Linked DNA regions of Homo sapiens: regions 1, 2 and 3 are each linked to region 4. The links are contacts of gene promoters, found by promoter capture Hi-C in blood cells and fetal thymus (Javierre and others, 2016). All regions are on one chromosome and are shown on one strand. Each heading gives the region's core, a stretch centred on a gene start or on the middle of the fragment in contact. The rest is flanking DNA. Distances are from core to core; before and after follow the strand shown. Region 1 has its middle 10 kb from the start of FOXL3-OT1. Region 2 overlaps LOC116435278 (a long non-coding RNA gene). Region 3 has its middle 110 kb from the start of FOXL3-OT1. Region 4 holds the start of PRKAR1B (protein kinase cAMP-dependent type I regulatory subunit beta).

Region 1 (3,562 bases), core at 888-3,387, 430 kb before region 4:
GCCCACTCGTGCAGTTCATTGTTTAACGTCGTTAACAGATGTGATGCTTCTCCACAGGTTAGCCTGGTGGAGTCACAGGCCCTGTCTGTGCAACGCCGCTCCGTCCTGGGGCTGCATGGGGTGCTGGACAAACAGCAATGGACATGGGCAGAGCGATGCCTGCAAGGGCCCTGCCCCGTGAGGGCACCCCGTCCCATTCAGAGGCTCCTCACGATCTCTCGATAGGTGCTTTTGGCCACCAGTAACAGAAATCCTGGGTGACGACGGTGTCAACAAATACAGGACGAAGTCTGGGGCAGGGCATAAGGCTCCTCCCTGGGGCAGTTTAATGTGTGAACCCAGCAGGAGGGATGAGGGCAGCCCCGGCCACAGATTCTGGGCCTCGTCCACACAGGGAAGGCCAACTGCTTTAGCCAGAGAAAGACAACACATGAGGAAAGGCAGGTGCATTTGGGGGAGAGGAAGAGGGGAGACGGGTTGCCCCCCTCAAAGACACTGCGTCCAGGCGGAGGGCTCCAACAAGGCAGGGCCTCGAGAAAGTTCTGCGAACCGTTTCACCCACAGCCTCCTTTGTTTCTAGCACCCAGGGAAGGTGCATTCAGGCTGCAGAAGTCAGCAGGCTGCAGGCTGGTGAGCCTGTTGATGGGAAGTTCTGGTGTTGAAAGTGTGTCTTGTGTATCATTCACCGCGAGGTTCTGCAGAGGAGGAGGACTTTTCTTTGGGGACTCCGAACAGCCACCACCTTATCACCCAGGGAGGCTGCAGGGCAGAGAACACTCTCCTCTGACAAGTGGGGAAACTGAGGCTTGAGAGGGACCACAGGTTTAAAGCAGCCAAACCCAGGAATAAATCCAGCCCTTCAGATTCCCATCCCAGGCTTGTTTCCAGACAGAGGAGGGAGAAATGGTTTATTTCATCCAGTTCTCCCACTTGTCCCCAGGACCAGCAGGTCCCCTCTCTGGCGTCCTGAAGCCTCCTTGCGTCTGTGGCTGACCAAGTGCAGATGTGCCTGGCTGTCTAGTGGGCCTGGCTTCATAGGCCTGAGATGCAAAGACAGAACATCACATGGACATGCACACACACACACATGAACACACACACATGTACATAGACATATGTGCACACACACACATGCACACCAACATAGGCACACACGTGAACATGCACACATGTACACAGACATATCAACATACACACATGCACCTGCATGCACACCAACATAGTCACATACATACGTGAACATGCATGCACATACACAGGCATATCCACATACACACATGCACATGTGTGCACACCAACATAGGCACACACACGTGTGAGCACACAAACACGTACATAGACATATATGCACCTACACACATGCACATCAACTAGGCACATGCACACGTGAGCATGCATGCACACACACGCCCGTATGCACAAGCACGCACACATATAGCCACACACATGTGCATGCACAGCGCACAGCGTGTGAAATGCCCACGGCTATGCTTGGGCAGAGTGAGAATGTTCCTCTCTCTGTCTACAGGCTGGGAGAGAGAATGGGTCCTGCTGAGCTGAGGCTGCTGGCTCCGTCTGACCCGCCACGGTCACGCTTCCACGCCCTCACGCTTGGTTTCCTCCCTCTGCAATGCCTTTTTCATCTTTGTAGCCTCGTAAAAACCCACTTGGCTTTCAAGGCCCTGGTGCAAAATGTCCTCCTCTGCTCAGCCCCCAGGTAGAGCAGAGCTGTTTGGGTGCACGCTCCCAGGCCGGGAAGTGAGGAGGCATCTCATATTTAATGGGGACATCTCATCTCCTCCCCGTGTTACAGACGAGGAAACTGAGGCACAGAGACCTGCCTAGGGCCGTGTGATTTGAGGTGGGGTAAGGATTTGCACAAGTCATGCTGGTTCCAGGGTCCCTGCCGCCGCCCACCCGAGGGAGGCGGGAGGTCCTCACGCTGGTGCCCCCAGCTGACCTCCCGAAGCTCCTGTACCTCCCGGCTTCCCGGCCTGCCGCTGACCCCACACACAGTAGGTGCTGCGACGTGTTTCTTGGGCATGCTCCTGCCTACCGTAAAGCCTGGGCTCGCAGAGCAGGCACGTAGGTGGCTCGGCCGTCCCAAACACAGAGACGAGGAGCCACATGTGTCTGGAGTTTCTGAAAAGCTGGGAACAATTTTTCTCACTGTTTTCTGTTTAGATGAACTGATTCGGCCAGATGTGGGCCAGGAAAACCCTGTTTCAAGGTGTCTCCCTCAACACAGAGGAAGCCGGCAGCTCGGTCCCAGAAACCTCAGGCTTCCCTGCTCGCAAGGGGCCCACGCCTCTCCTCCGTGGCGAGTGGTCTAGGCCCGGGTGGATGGGGGGACCCTAAGCTGTGCTGGGTCTGGCCTGAGGACCCTGGGATCCCCAAGGGTGTCTGCCCAGCTGGGGCTGGGAGACACACTCTCCCTGCCTGTGACTTCTGGGGCCTGCCTGGGCCCCACCTTCCCTGAGTCAGGACCAGTGCGCTGGGGAGTCTGCTATCCTGGGCCTGAGCTGGAGGACCCCATGGGCCTCCAGAAGCAACAGCCCTCCCAGGCTCAGTGCTCAGCGCCCGGCAGCATTTTCAGCGTTCACAGCAGCTCCGTGAAAGGTTGGATCGGTTGATTTGATCCCTTTCTGTAGAGGAGGAGACTGAGGCCTAGAGAGGAGGGACTCCTGCAGCAGACAGGCTCTGGGACCCCCCAACAGCCATCCATCCCAGGGCCAGGTGTGGCCTCCTGTCAGCCGTGAACCAGGCACAGCGGGGCTAGGAGCCACTTTCTCTCCACACTGGTTTGCTTCAACAGGGCTAAGGGAGGTTTTCACTTTGGTCCTGTCATGCCTGGGCCATGGGGGCCTCTTCCTGGGAGCATGAGGACAGGGAGGGTCCCGTCTGTAACCGGCCATTTAGAGTCACCTTTGATGGGGTTTCCTCTGGGGAGCAGCCCCTTGTCCCCTGCCTGCTGGTTAGGGTGGGGGTGACCTCCCTCATCCTTTTTTGTTTTTTTTTTTTGAGACAAGGTTTGGCTCCATCGCCCAGGCTGGAATGCAATGGTGCGATCTTGGCTCACTTCCACCTCCACCTCCCAGGCTCAAGCAATCCTCCCACCTCAGCCTCCCCGGAAGCTGGGATGACAGGTGCGCACCACCACGCCTGGCTAATTTTTATATTTTTTATAGAGATGGGGTTTCACTTTGTTGCCCAGGCTGGTCTTGAACTCCTGAGCTCAAGTGATCTGCCCTCCTCGGCCTCCCAAAGTGCTGGGATTACAGGCGTGAGCCACCACACCCGGCCCACCATTGCCTTTGAGTGGGTCCCTGACCCAGGCCTCACCACCTGACCCCTTCCCATCGGCTGCAGAGATTGAGGTGGAGGCATCACGTGACCCAAAAGCAAGGAATGGACCCCAGCCCTGGGCTTCTACTGGAATGGATGGGGAGGGAGCGTTCACACAGTGGAATGTGGTCTGGGCCTGTAGGTGCCACCTGCGGCCGCCCAGGGAAAGCCTGTGGGAAGATGGACTGCACAGCGGAATGCAGAGCCAAAGGGCGGG
Region 2 (3,166 bases), core at 308-2,807, 290 kb before region 4:
CCCGCAGCCCGTGCTGGCCAGGGAGGCAGGAGGGCATGGCAGGTGCTCCCAGAGCTCGCTTCTCTGCGCGTTCCCGCCGCCCTCCCTCCCTGGTCCTGCGGGCTGCCGGCCTCAGGATCCAGGTCACCTTAGGTGGCAAAGTTGGAGCCGTGCCCCACCTGCCTTCACTGGCTCATGTTGACTCCTTCATCTACGAGACAGTCTGAGCTTGAGGCTTGGAAACTCTCCTCTGCCGGACCTAGCTCTGGGCCATGGATGCACAGAGCCCTGAGCTCAGAGACCAGGAGAGGCTGGCACCATGCTCCACCCAGCAGGTGGCTCCAGGTCATCTGGAGTGTCCCAAAGCTGCAAGGCTGAGGGAGGCTCCCCCTTCCTGGAGGGGCCCAGGCAGCCCTTGGGATGGAGCCAGGGACGGTCCCTGACCCCAGGAGCTCCCTCTCCTCCCACGCCTTCCACAGACCCATCTCCCTCAGGACTGCCTTAACTTGGGGTCACCTAGAAATAGGTTTATGGGGAGGCCATCCCAGGGAACTTTCGCAGGAATGAGGGCTGAGATGGGGAAGGGCTGTTGTCACCACCATGGGGGATTGCTCCAGTGAGAGGGCCAGCACGGGACCCTCAGAGTCTTCCCACCCAAGGGTCATGAGATCCGGGTCAGAGGTCACAGGCTGCTCCTAGGGCCTCTAGATCTCTGGAGAGCCCTTGGCTGCAGTTTGCCGATGCCAATGGCTGGAGGTCAGCTGGCACTCCCACCACGATGGCCAGCGGACAACAACAGTGTGGGCACAGTGATGGGCACCCCCCCGTGTCCACTCGGCCGGGCTGCAGTGCCCAGCGGCACGGTCAAGCCCCATCCAGATGCCACTGTGGCTGTGCTGCAGGTGTGATGGACACGCACAATTGGCTAATTGCAAGTGCTGCAGATCACGAGATGTGGCTGGGCCTCAGCTGCAGCTGAAGATGAACGCCGAGGCTTCCTGGAGAAGGATTTCTGCCCCAAGACTGCAACATAAAATCCTGCCCGGGCTCCCAGCCTGCTCCCCTGCGGGTCTGCCCTGCAGATTTCAGATTCATCAGCCTGGACCATCACATGGGCCAGCGCATTAAATCAATCTCCCTGTGTCTGTGTCTCTGTCTCTCTCCCTCCAAAGGGCGCTGACTGATACGGGACCCTCTGTGTCTCTGCCTCAGGGCCAGGCTCCAGCCCCCGAGAGCCCCTGGTGGCTCAGCCTCTTCCCCACAGCCCTGCCCTCCACGAGGACGCTTTCGGCCCTTGGTGCTCTCTGTGTTACGGATTTATAGGGCTGTGCCCTGGGCCTGGACCTAAGGGGGTCGGGAGCAATGTCTGGACTTCCTGCCACCCTCAAGGTACGCAGGTATGTGTGTGCTCAGGATGATTTATGTAGAGGAAACTGGGGGGAAACTCCTTGCAAATAAACCTCTGAGATCCTACAGACCTCAGGGGGATGGCAGCAATGGTCGGAGCCCACTGCTCAGTCTGCAGATGGAGAAACTGAGGCCCAAAGAAGGCTTTGGCCTCTAGGTATGCCCTTGATTTCTGACCCTTAAGAGAAGCTGAGGAGTATGAGCATTTACTGTGCACTGTGTGGGCTGGTTCCACCTCCCTGAGATGTGGAGGACAGAGGCCCCTGTAACCAAGGCGAGAGTGACGGTCCTGGGGACTCCCGCCAGGCAGGCTGGAATCTGGTGGTACTGAGAGTGTCCTCTGCACACTCCAGGGGCAGCCATCTCAAGGACAGTGGCCATGCAGGGATAACCCTCATTCGAGCCAACTGGGCATTCTCTATGGGTCCCTGTGCCCCCAAGCCCCAGGAATGGACTGGAGCCCTGGGTGTTGGCCACGATCACTGCAGAAGGGAAGGTGAAGAGGAGGCAGAGGTCAATGTTCCTTCTTCCGGGTCCAGGGCCCAGCTCACACACCAGGCCTTGTTCTGGGCCCTGAGAGTATACTGCTGCCCTTACCAAGACCAAGCCCTCCCTGCACTGAGCAGTGGCCCCAGACCCAAGATGCCAGAGAGCTTCTGGTGTGGAGAATCGTGTAGAGACCACTGGGCCCAAGGTCTCCTTTTTACAGTGGGGAGACAAAAGAGACTTGTCCAAAGTCAGCTAGGGCCCCAGTATCCCAGAACGCCCATCCCCAGCCCCTGCCAGCCCTCTTTTTCATTCTCCTACTCCTGAGCAGTAACGGGAGATGGGGCCCACATTGTGATGGAGTTTGGAAAGTATTTTAGGGTACTGCAGCTGTCATCACAAAAACCACAAGCGGAGGGTCTTAAACAACACGGATTTATTTCTCACAACTCTGAAGGCTGGACGTCTAACATTAAGGAACCAGCACAGCTGGTTTCTCCACAGGCCTCTCTCCTCAACTTCTAGATGGCAGCCTTCCCCCAGATCCTCACACGGCCTCTCCTCTGTGCACAGATAGTGGGGATCCCTGGTGTCTCTTCCTCCTCCCATAAGAACACTGGTCCTACAGGATTAGGATTAGGGCCCCAACCTTATGGGATCATTCAATCTTGTTACCTCCTTAAACGCCTTGTCTCCAAATATAGTCACATGGGGGATACAGCTTCCACCTATAAGTTTGGAGGATGCCATTCCATTCGTAACAGAATCAAATGCTAGAGTGGAACTACTCTATTTAAAAGCTCCAGTGTATCCAGGCCGCAGCACATAACGAGGTAGGAAGAGCCGGAGAAGGCCTGGCTGGCCCTGGGAGACACGTCCATCTCACTGCTGGTTCATAAGCATGTGGGCACCCGGGAAGCTGGAGCGTGGCCTGTGTGACGTGGGCGCCCACCACCACGATGAGGCCGGTTCATAAACATGTGGGCACCCGGGAAGCTGGAGCGTGGCCTGTGTGACGTGGGTGCCCACCACCATGATGGGGCCGGTTCATAAACACGTGGGCACCCGGGAAGCTGGAGCGTGGCCTGTGTGACGTGGGCGCCCACCACCAGGATGAGGCTGGTTCATAAACAGGTGGGCACCCGGGAAGCTGGAGCGTGGCCTGTGTGGCATGGGCGCCCACCACCACGATGGGGCTGGTTCATAAAAACACGTGGGCACCCGGGAAGCTGGAGCGTGGCCTGTGTGACGTGGGCGCCCACCACCAGCATGAGGCTGGTTCATAAACATGTGG
Region 3 (3,348 bases), core at 24-2,523, 330 kb before region 4:
GGTTCCTTTGCACCCAAGGAGTCATTTTTCTCTTGCTGCTTTCAGGATTTTTCTCTTAATCTCTAGATTTCAACATTTTGGCTGTGATATGCCTGGGTGTGGATCTGTTTGCATTTATCCTACTTGGAGGCTGTTGAACTTCTTGGAAGTAGATTGTTGTCATCCATCAAATTTGGGAAGTTTTCAGCCCTAATTTCTTCAAATATTTTTCTCCTCTCCTTCTATATTTCCATTATGCAAATGCACATGTTGGTGTGCTTAATGGTGTCCCACGCTTCCCCTTGGCTGTGTTCATTTTTCTTCATTCTTCTTTCTTTTCTTCTGGTTATATAATCTGTATTGATCTATCTCAAGTTCAGTGATTCTTCTAGCCAAAATCTACTGTTGAGCCCCTCGAGCGGATTTTTTATTTAGGCTATTGTACTTTAAACCCCAGAATTTCCATTTGATTCTTTTTATAATTCATCCTTTTTTATAGTCCCTATTTTACAGCTCATTATCATCATGCCTTTGTTTTATTCTTTCAACATGGCTTCCTTTAGTTCTTTTGTTTGGTTTTGTTTAGTTCTTTCATATTTTCAATAGCTTCTTTTAAGTCTTTGTCTGCTCAGCTCAACATCTTGGCCCCTTTGAAGCAACTTCTATTGCCTGTTGTTGTTTTTTTTTTTCCTGTGTATGAATCACACTTTTCTGTTTCTTTGCAAATCTTAATATTTATTGAAAATTGAACACTTGAGGTAACATGATATTGTAGCAAGTCTGAATCCTCATCTGCCAACCAGGGGCTTATTATCATTGTTGTTATTTGTTTGTTCACCTGTTTTCTTGTTTGGTGATTTGACTGAAATAATTCTGTGACATCTATATCTCCTGCAGTATGCATCCTGCTCACACTTGTCCCCTCATTTTTATCTTTAAGCCAGTCCTAAGTGTCACCCCTCGATTTAACACAATTTAGTGGTCAGCCACTTGTTCTTAAGCCTATGAGGCCTCCCAACCCTTTGCTGATGGATCTATCTGTGGTTGGAAACTGCTCACAGAGAGTGTATTCATTTATCCCACATTCAGGCACGGACTAGAGGTTCCAATGTCCCTCCCATCACTCCTCAAAGAGTGCAGTCTTAGGCATGCACACAGTCTAATGGACCGCCAGGGACGATGGTGTTAGCTGGAGTCTCTGCCGCTTCCCATGATAAGCTTCTGGTTGTTCTGCCTCTATTGGCATCACCCCACGTGGATACTACCTGATTGCTCTATTGTTTTCAACAATGCCCTGGAGCATTGTTGCTCCATAGCCCACAGTCTGATCCAAACAAAGTAGAATCACTTGGCCAGAAAAGGTGTTGCTTTGAAGCTTGCTATGACCCTCCCCTGAGCAGAAGCTCTGTGCTATGGAGCAGGAGCTGGGAAGTGGGGGACCTCACTCTTCACCAATCACCCCACCTGTATCTCACTATGGAGCAAGCGTTTAGGAAAGGCAAGAGCAGTAACTGAGGTACCACCTGGCTGACTCCACCACCCAAGACATATTTTTAGCAGCACAGAGCCAAGGAGGATGGGATTCCCAATGTTCACTGGTTGCCAAATACACCCTAAGTAGCTCTTCTACACTAGGATGCTGGAAGACGGGAGCTGCCACACTGCTGCTGAACCCACCAGGATAGCTCTTCTGCAGCACAGAGCCTGGGGGAGGAGGAGTGTTGTGTTATCTTCTCTGCCTAGATCTTTCCTATGGAGCAGTTGCTGGGATGGGGGAAAAGATAATTCCGCCCAGCTGCCTGCTCAGTATAGCTCTTCTGCAGCATGTTGCTGATAGAGACTATTAGGAGAGAAATCTACTAATAGTGTCTGGCCATTGGATACGCCCATGGAATGGCTCTTCCATTTCAGGGAGCTGGAAAGGTGGAAGCTTTGCACTCAGCCACCAAGGCTTCTGGAATAGCTCCTTTGCAGCAGAGCCACGGGGGGATGTGTGCAACCCATGGCTCAGATGCCAAGGCCTTCCACAATGTTTGGCAAATTTCACAGATTTTATTGAATAAATGCTTCTCAATTTTTCTATGAACCTTTTGATCAGTCTCCAGAGACTTCAAACGATTGTCTCTGTTTATTTTGATTAGTCTAACAGATGTCTGTCTGGGGAAGAGGTGTTGCCAAACTCCACACACTGCCATTTGCAAAGCCCAATTATCTTTTAAGGAGACTTAAATAATAAGAGTAAATCTAGAACTCGGTGTGGTGGCTCATGCCTGTAACCCCAGCAACTCAGGAGGCTGAGCCAGGAGGATCACTAGAAACCAGGAGTTCAAGGCTGCAGTGAGCCATGATTGTACCACTGCACTCCAGCCTGAGTAACAGAGTGACATCATGACTCTAAACATAAAAAAAGAGTAAATCTTACAGATTTACCCTGTGCTTACCATTTGTGGTGCTGTGTGTGTGTGTGTGTGTGTGTGTGTGTGTGTGTGTAGATAAAGGCTTTCTTATTATACAAGTCTGCTGTGGTGATGGATTCCTTCAGCTTTTGCATGTCTGAATAGTCTTTAGTTCACCTTAAAAAAAAGATATTATTGTTGGGTATAAAATTCGAGACTTACAAGATTCTTCTCTATCAATAGTTTAAAGACACCATTCTCCTGTCTTCTAGCTTATATTGTTTTCCGGTGGGAGATCTGCCATCACCCTCACATCACTGTCCTGGTGGGAGATCTGCCGTCACCCTCGCATTGCTGTCCCGGTGGGAGATCTGCCGTCACCCTCCCGTTGCTGTCTCAGTGGGAGATCTGCCATCACCCTCCCGTTGCTGTCTCAGTGGGAGATCTGCCGTCACCCTCCCGTTGCTGTCTCGGTGGGAGATCTGCCGTCACCCTCACATTGCTGTCCTGGTGGGAGATCTGCCATCACCCTCACATTGCTGTCTCGGTGGGAGAACTGCCATCACCCTCACATTGCTGTCTCGGTGGGAGATCTGCCGTCATCCTCACATTGCTGTCTCGGTGGGAGATCTGCCGTCATCCTCACATTGCTGTCTCGGTGGGAGATCTGCCATCACCCTCACATTTGCTGTCTCTGCACATGGAGCATCACTGCTTTCTCTCCAGCTGCTTTTAAGATTTTCTATTTATTACTAGTTTTGAGCAATTTATAATGTAGTTTGGTGTGCTTTTCTTTGTGTTTCTTGCACTTATATGTTATTGCGTTCTTGGATCTGTGGATTTCTATCTTTTATCAAATTTGGAAACTTTTCAGTCATTATTTTTTCTAATATTTTTTGTCCCCTTCTCCCCATCTATCCATTCTTTCAGGAACTCCACTTACACTTCTATTAAGCCACATGTATTATGTATT
Region 4 (3,477 bases), core at 425-2,924:
AACAAAGATGATAACAGCCCTTTCCTGAAGCCAACCTCCTTCTTGCCTGGGGACCAGAATGCTTTTGTAAGACTAACACATGAGCCACAAGATTAGAAATTGTGGTTTGAGTCATGCAGCTAGAGGCCACAAGATTCCAAACCTCCCCAGTTGCTCCTTAGGATAACACCACTATCATCAACTCTAAGATTGGTGCTCAAGATATTTTTCAGGCTCTGCATTCTGATGCACCAGGTGCCACCACCCACACCACTAATCTGGCTCAACCAGTTCTGTGATCCCACCCAGGAACAGAAGACAGCAAGAGAATCAACTTTGACTCTCCATGGTTTCATCTCCAACCCGACCAATAAGCACTGCCCTCTCCCTGGCCCCCTACCTGCCTAATTATCCTTAGATGACCCATCTCAGGATTTTCAGAACCTGGTTTGAGCAATAAAGCTCCAGTGTCCTTTAGCCAGTTTCTGCATGCAGCCAGTTTCTGCATGCAGCCAGTTTCTGCATGCATTAAACTCTCTATTGCAATTCCCCTGTCTTGATAAATTGGCTCTACCTGGGCAGCGAGTAAGGCGAACCTATTGGGCGGCTACGCCTGAGATCTAATGACAGGCTGCACGTGAAGCCCAGACCAGGCACCTGTCTTACACCACAGGGGGATCCAGTCCACAGAACCAGCGTCCTTCCCTCCTGGAACGGACCTTCCCAAAGCCAGAGGGGCTCTAGGCGGCTCAAACAGGGGCTTCCCGGCTACCCTGGTCCCAGGCGGGACCACTCAGGTTCCTTCTCCAAGCCCCCTAGGCTGCAGGGCAGGCTTCCCTAGGGGCAGGCCCAGGCCTATAGCCCGGGACCCGCATCCCGGGCGAGCTGCACCCTCCCGAGACCTTCCCCATCTGTACAATGGGGACAGGACAAGGCCCAGCAGGCAGGCTGGCGGGGGTTCCGGCGACAGAGGGGGACAGCGGGCGAGCACGACAAGAGCACAGGCCCACGTGCGCACCGGCGGGGAGGAAGTAGCCCGGCGCCCCGCCCGCAGCGCGGACCGGAAGTGCTGCCGTAATCTGCGCTGAGAGTCGCGAAAGCGCTGTTCCCCTTAGTGACCGGCGACGCGGGCAAGATGGCGGCGCTGGGGGTGGCGGAGGCCGTGGCGGCCCCACACCCGGCTGAGGGGGCCGAGACGGCTGAGGCGGTGGAGCTGAGCCGCGCCCTGAGCCGCCTGCTGCCGGGGCTGGAGGCCGACAGCAAGCCGGGCCGGCGGCGCGCCTTGGAGGCCCTGCGGCGCGCGCTGGAGGAGCCAGGCCCTGCCGCCGACCCCACCGCTTTCCAGGGCCCCTGGGCGCGCCTACTGCTGCCGCGCTTGCTGCGCTGCCTGAGCGACCCCGCCGAGGGCTGCCGCGCGCTGGCAGTGCACCTGCTGGATCTGGGCCTGCGCCGCGCCGCGCGGCCCCGCGATGCCCTGCCGCGCCTGCTGCCCGCGCTCGCCGCGCGCTTGGCCGGCCCCGTGCCCGCGCGCCGCCCGCCCGAGGCCTGTGAGGAGCTGCGCCTGGCGCTTGTGCAGCTGCTGGGCCTGGCCGTGGACCTGTGCGGCGCCGCGCTCGCGCCCCACCTGGACGACGCTCTGCGCGCGCTGCGCTGCTCCCTGCTCGACCCCTTCGCCGCCGTGCGCCGCGAGAGCTGCAGCTGCGCCGCCGCCCTGGCGCAGGCCACGCCCGGTGAGCACCCCGGGCCCCGCTCCCACACGCCACCCCACACTCTCACCCCCACCTCCACCTCCGCGGCCCCTCTCACAACCCCCGCGGCTCGGCCCCGCCCCCCTCCACGCCCGCACCCCCCAACATCCCGGACCCCCCATGCGCCGCTTCCCCCACCCGCCTGCCCCAAAGCACCCCGCCCGGCCCCCTCCTCCCACCACCACTGCTTCCCCTGCCTCACGTCCCGCCACCAACGCGCCCTTCAGCTGCTCCCTTGTCCTCTACCCCCATGTACCTGTTTCCTGCGCTGCCACGTGCTCCTTGCCCCGTGACCCCTGTTCCTGCTTGGCCCTCACTCACCTCACTCCCCTGTCCCCTTGCTCCCCGCCTCCACCCTCCACGCCCCAAGCCCCGCCCCCCACCTGCCTGCTCCCTGTGCCCCCTCCACCTGCCTATCCTGTGCCATCCTCCTCCTTGCACGCCGCCCTCCCGCGACCCTCACCTCCCACCCTCCTCCCTGCCTGAGCCCCCTCCACCCCACCCGGGCCCACGAGCCAGCGCTTCTGTCCAGATACCTGGAAACCACCGCAGAAATTCCTGTTAGGCGGTTTGGGGTGGGGTGTGCCCTGATAGCTGCCCCCTTTCCTTCCCTCGGGGGCTTGCAGGACTTGCACCTGGTTGAGGGCACGCGCTTTGAGACTCTGCTCTGGTCATTTCACTTTCTGTCCCATTCATCCTACTCCCCTGCCTTTCCGCTCTGGCTTGGACCACTGTCCTAAGTGGAAGGAGGCCGCTTCTCCCCTCCACTTTATAACGTTCCCCATCTTTTTTAGAGCTCTGATCTGATCCGGTCGTTCCCTTTCCTTAGCTGGCCATTCCTGCAGGGTCTTGCCCTTTCCCTCCCCTGGCTGGGATGTGGAATGATAGCAGGCGCCTGCTTCCTGCTGGCGGGAAGGCTTTCCGAAGGAGGGAACACTGATGCTATAAATCCGTGGGCGGTAGGGAGCAGGAAAGCAGTGAGGGATCTGGCCAGCTCAGGCCGTCCCAGTGATGTCCCAGTGATGGTCTGAATGTAGTGGGAAGTGCAGGGGGTGTCAATAGAAGTGATAGACCCGAGTTCAGGTTGTTAAAAGATCACTGCAGCTGCGTGGAGAATAGATTCCAGAAGTAGAGGAAGAGCTGGACTTGGGGAAATGCCGAGATTTCCACGTTGGTTAACTTTGGATTTCACATGGTCCAGAACTCCTGTGGAGCTTGGGGAAGAACCTTGGGCTGGATGGACATGGCCATTGAGAATTCCTGGCATTTAATGTATTTCTTCTTCATCCTCAACCACTTCCCTACCCAGTCTGTACATCAGCCCCACGAGCTCCCTCCCTGGACCGTAGGTTCCACAGGACAGCACTGTGCCCATCTGTGCCCCAGCCCCAAGCGCAGCCTGCTGGGGTATGTGCTCACTGGTTGCTGTGGGGTGAGGGACTGTGCCTCTGCCTGGAGCATCCCCTCATCTCCAGCACCTCTGGCCTTCCTCTCCCCTGGGTGGGGGGCCTCACCTCTGGTCTCGGTCACACTGGGCAACGGCAGAGAGGTTGAGGCGCTCACCCAAAGTCTCACTGGAATAGCCGTTTCCCAGACGGGCCCCAAGTAGTGCAGAGCTGAGGCAAGAGGCGGCCTGGATGCCAGAGACCCTTTGGTTCTGACTTTTTTTTTTTTTTTTTTTGAGACAGGGTTTCACTCTGTCTCCCAGGCTGGAGTGCAGTGGGGCGATCTCAGCTCACTGCAACCTCCG

Evidence for each region. Contacts are between HindIII fragments. The CHiCAGO score rates a contact against its expected background, and 5 or more counts as called.
Region 1: a contact is called between a fragment that was not itself captured here and the fragment with the promoter of PRKAR1B in region 4, in 1 of 17 cell types (endothelial precursors). The highest score is 5.1, in endothelial precursors.
Region 2: a fragment that was not itself captured here is called in contact with the fragment with the promoter of PRKAR1B in region 4 in 2 of 17 cell types (activated CD4 T cells and naive CD8 T cells); the score reaches 6.6 in activated CD4 T cells.
Region 3: a fragment that was not itself captured here is called in contact with the fragment with the promoter of PRKAR1B in region 4 in 6 of 17 cell types (activated CD4 T cells, naive CD8 T cells, non-activated CD4 T cells and 3 more); the score reaches 12.6 in activated CD4 T cells.

What each region holds. Positions count from the first base shown.
Region 1 is chr7:299,741-303,302 of GRCh38, forward strand. No RefSeq gene overlaps it. Among named protein-coding and RNA genes, the nearest start is that of FOXL3-OT1, 10 kb to the left of the region's middle. The HindIII fragment of the contact is 8,648 bases long and covers 1-3,562 here.
Region 2 is chr7:438,282-441,447 of GRCh38, forward strand. It overlaps LOC116435278 (a long non-coding RNA gene), which reads left to right. Exons shown (of 2, transcript NR_165239.1): 2 at 1-1,108. Among named protein-coding and RNA genes, the nearest start is that of PDGFA, 80 kb to the right of the region's middle. The HindIII fragment of the contact is 9,548 bases long and covers 1-3,166 here.
Region 3 is chr7:395,875-399,222 of GRCh38, forward strand. No RefSeq gene overlaps it. Among named protein-coding and RNA genes, the nearest start is that of FOXL3-OT1, 110 kb to the left of the region's middle. The HindIII fragment of the contact is 157 bases long and covers 1,196-1,352 here.
Region 4 is chr7:725,607-729,083 of GRCh38, forward strand. PRKAR1B (protein kinase cAMP-dependent type I regulatory subunit beta) reads right to left here and starts at 1,675. Exons shown (of 11, transcript NM_001164760.2): 1 at 1,604-1,675. DNAAF5 (dynein axonemal assembly factor 5) reads left to right here and starts at 1,093. Exons shown (of 13, transcript NM_017802.4): 1 at 1,093-1,709. The coding sequence starts at 1,115. RefSeq lists silencers at 1,166-1,365, 1,616-1,665, 1,726-1,835, 1,876-1,955. The HindIII fragment of the contact is 13,329 bases long and covers 1-3,477 here.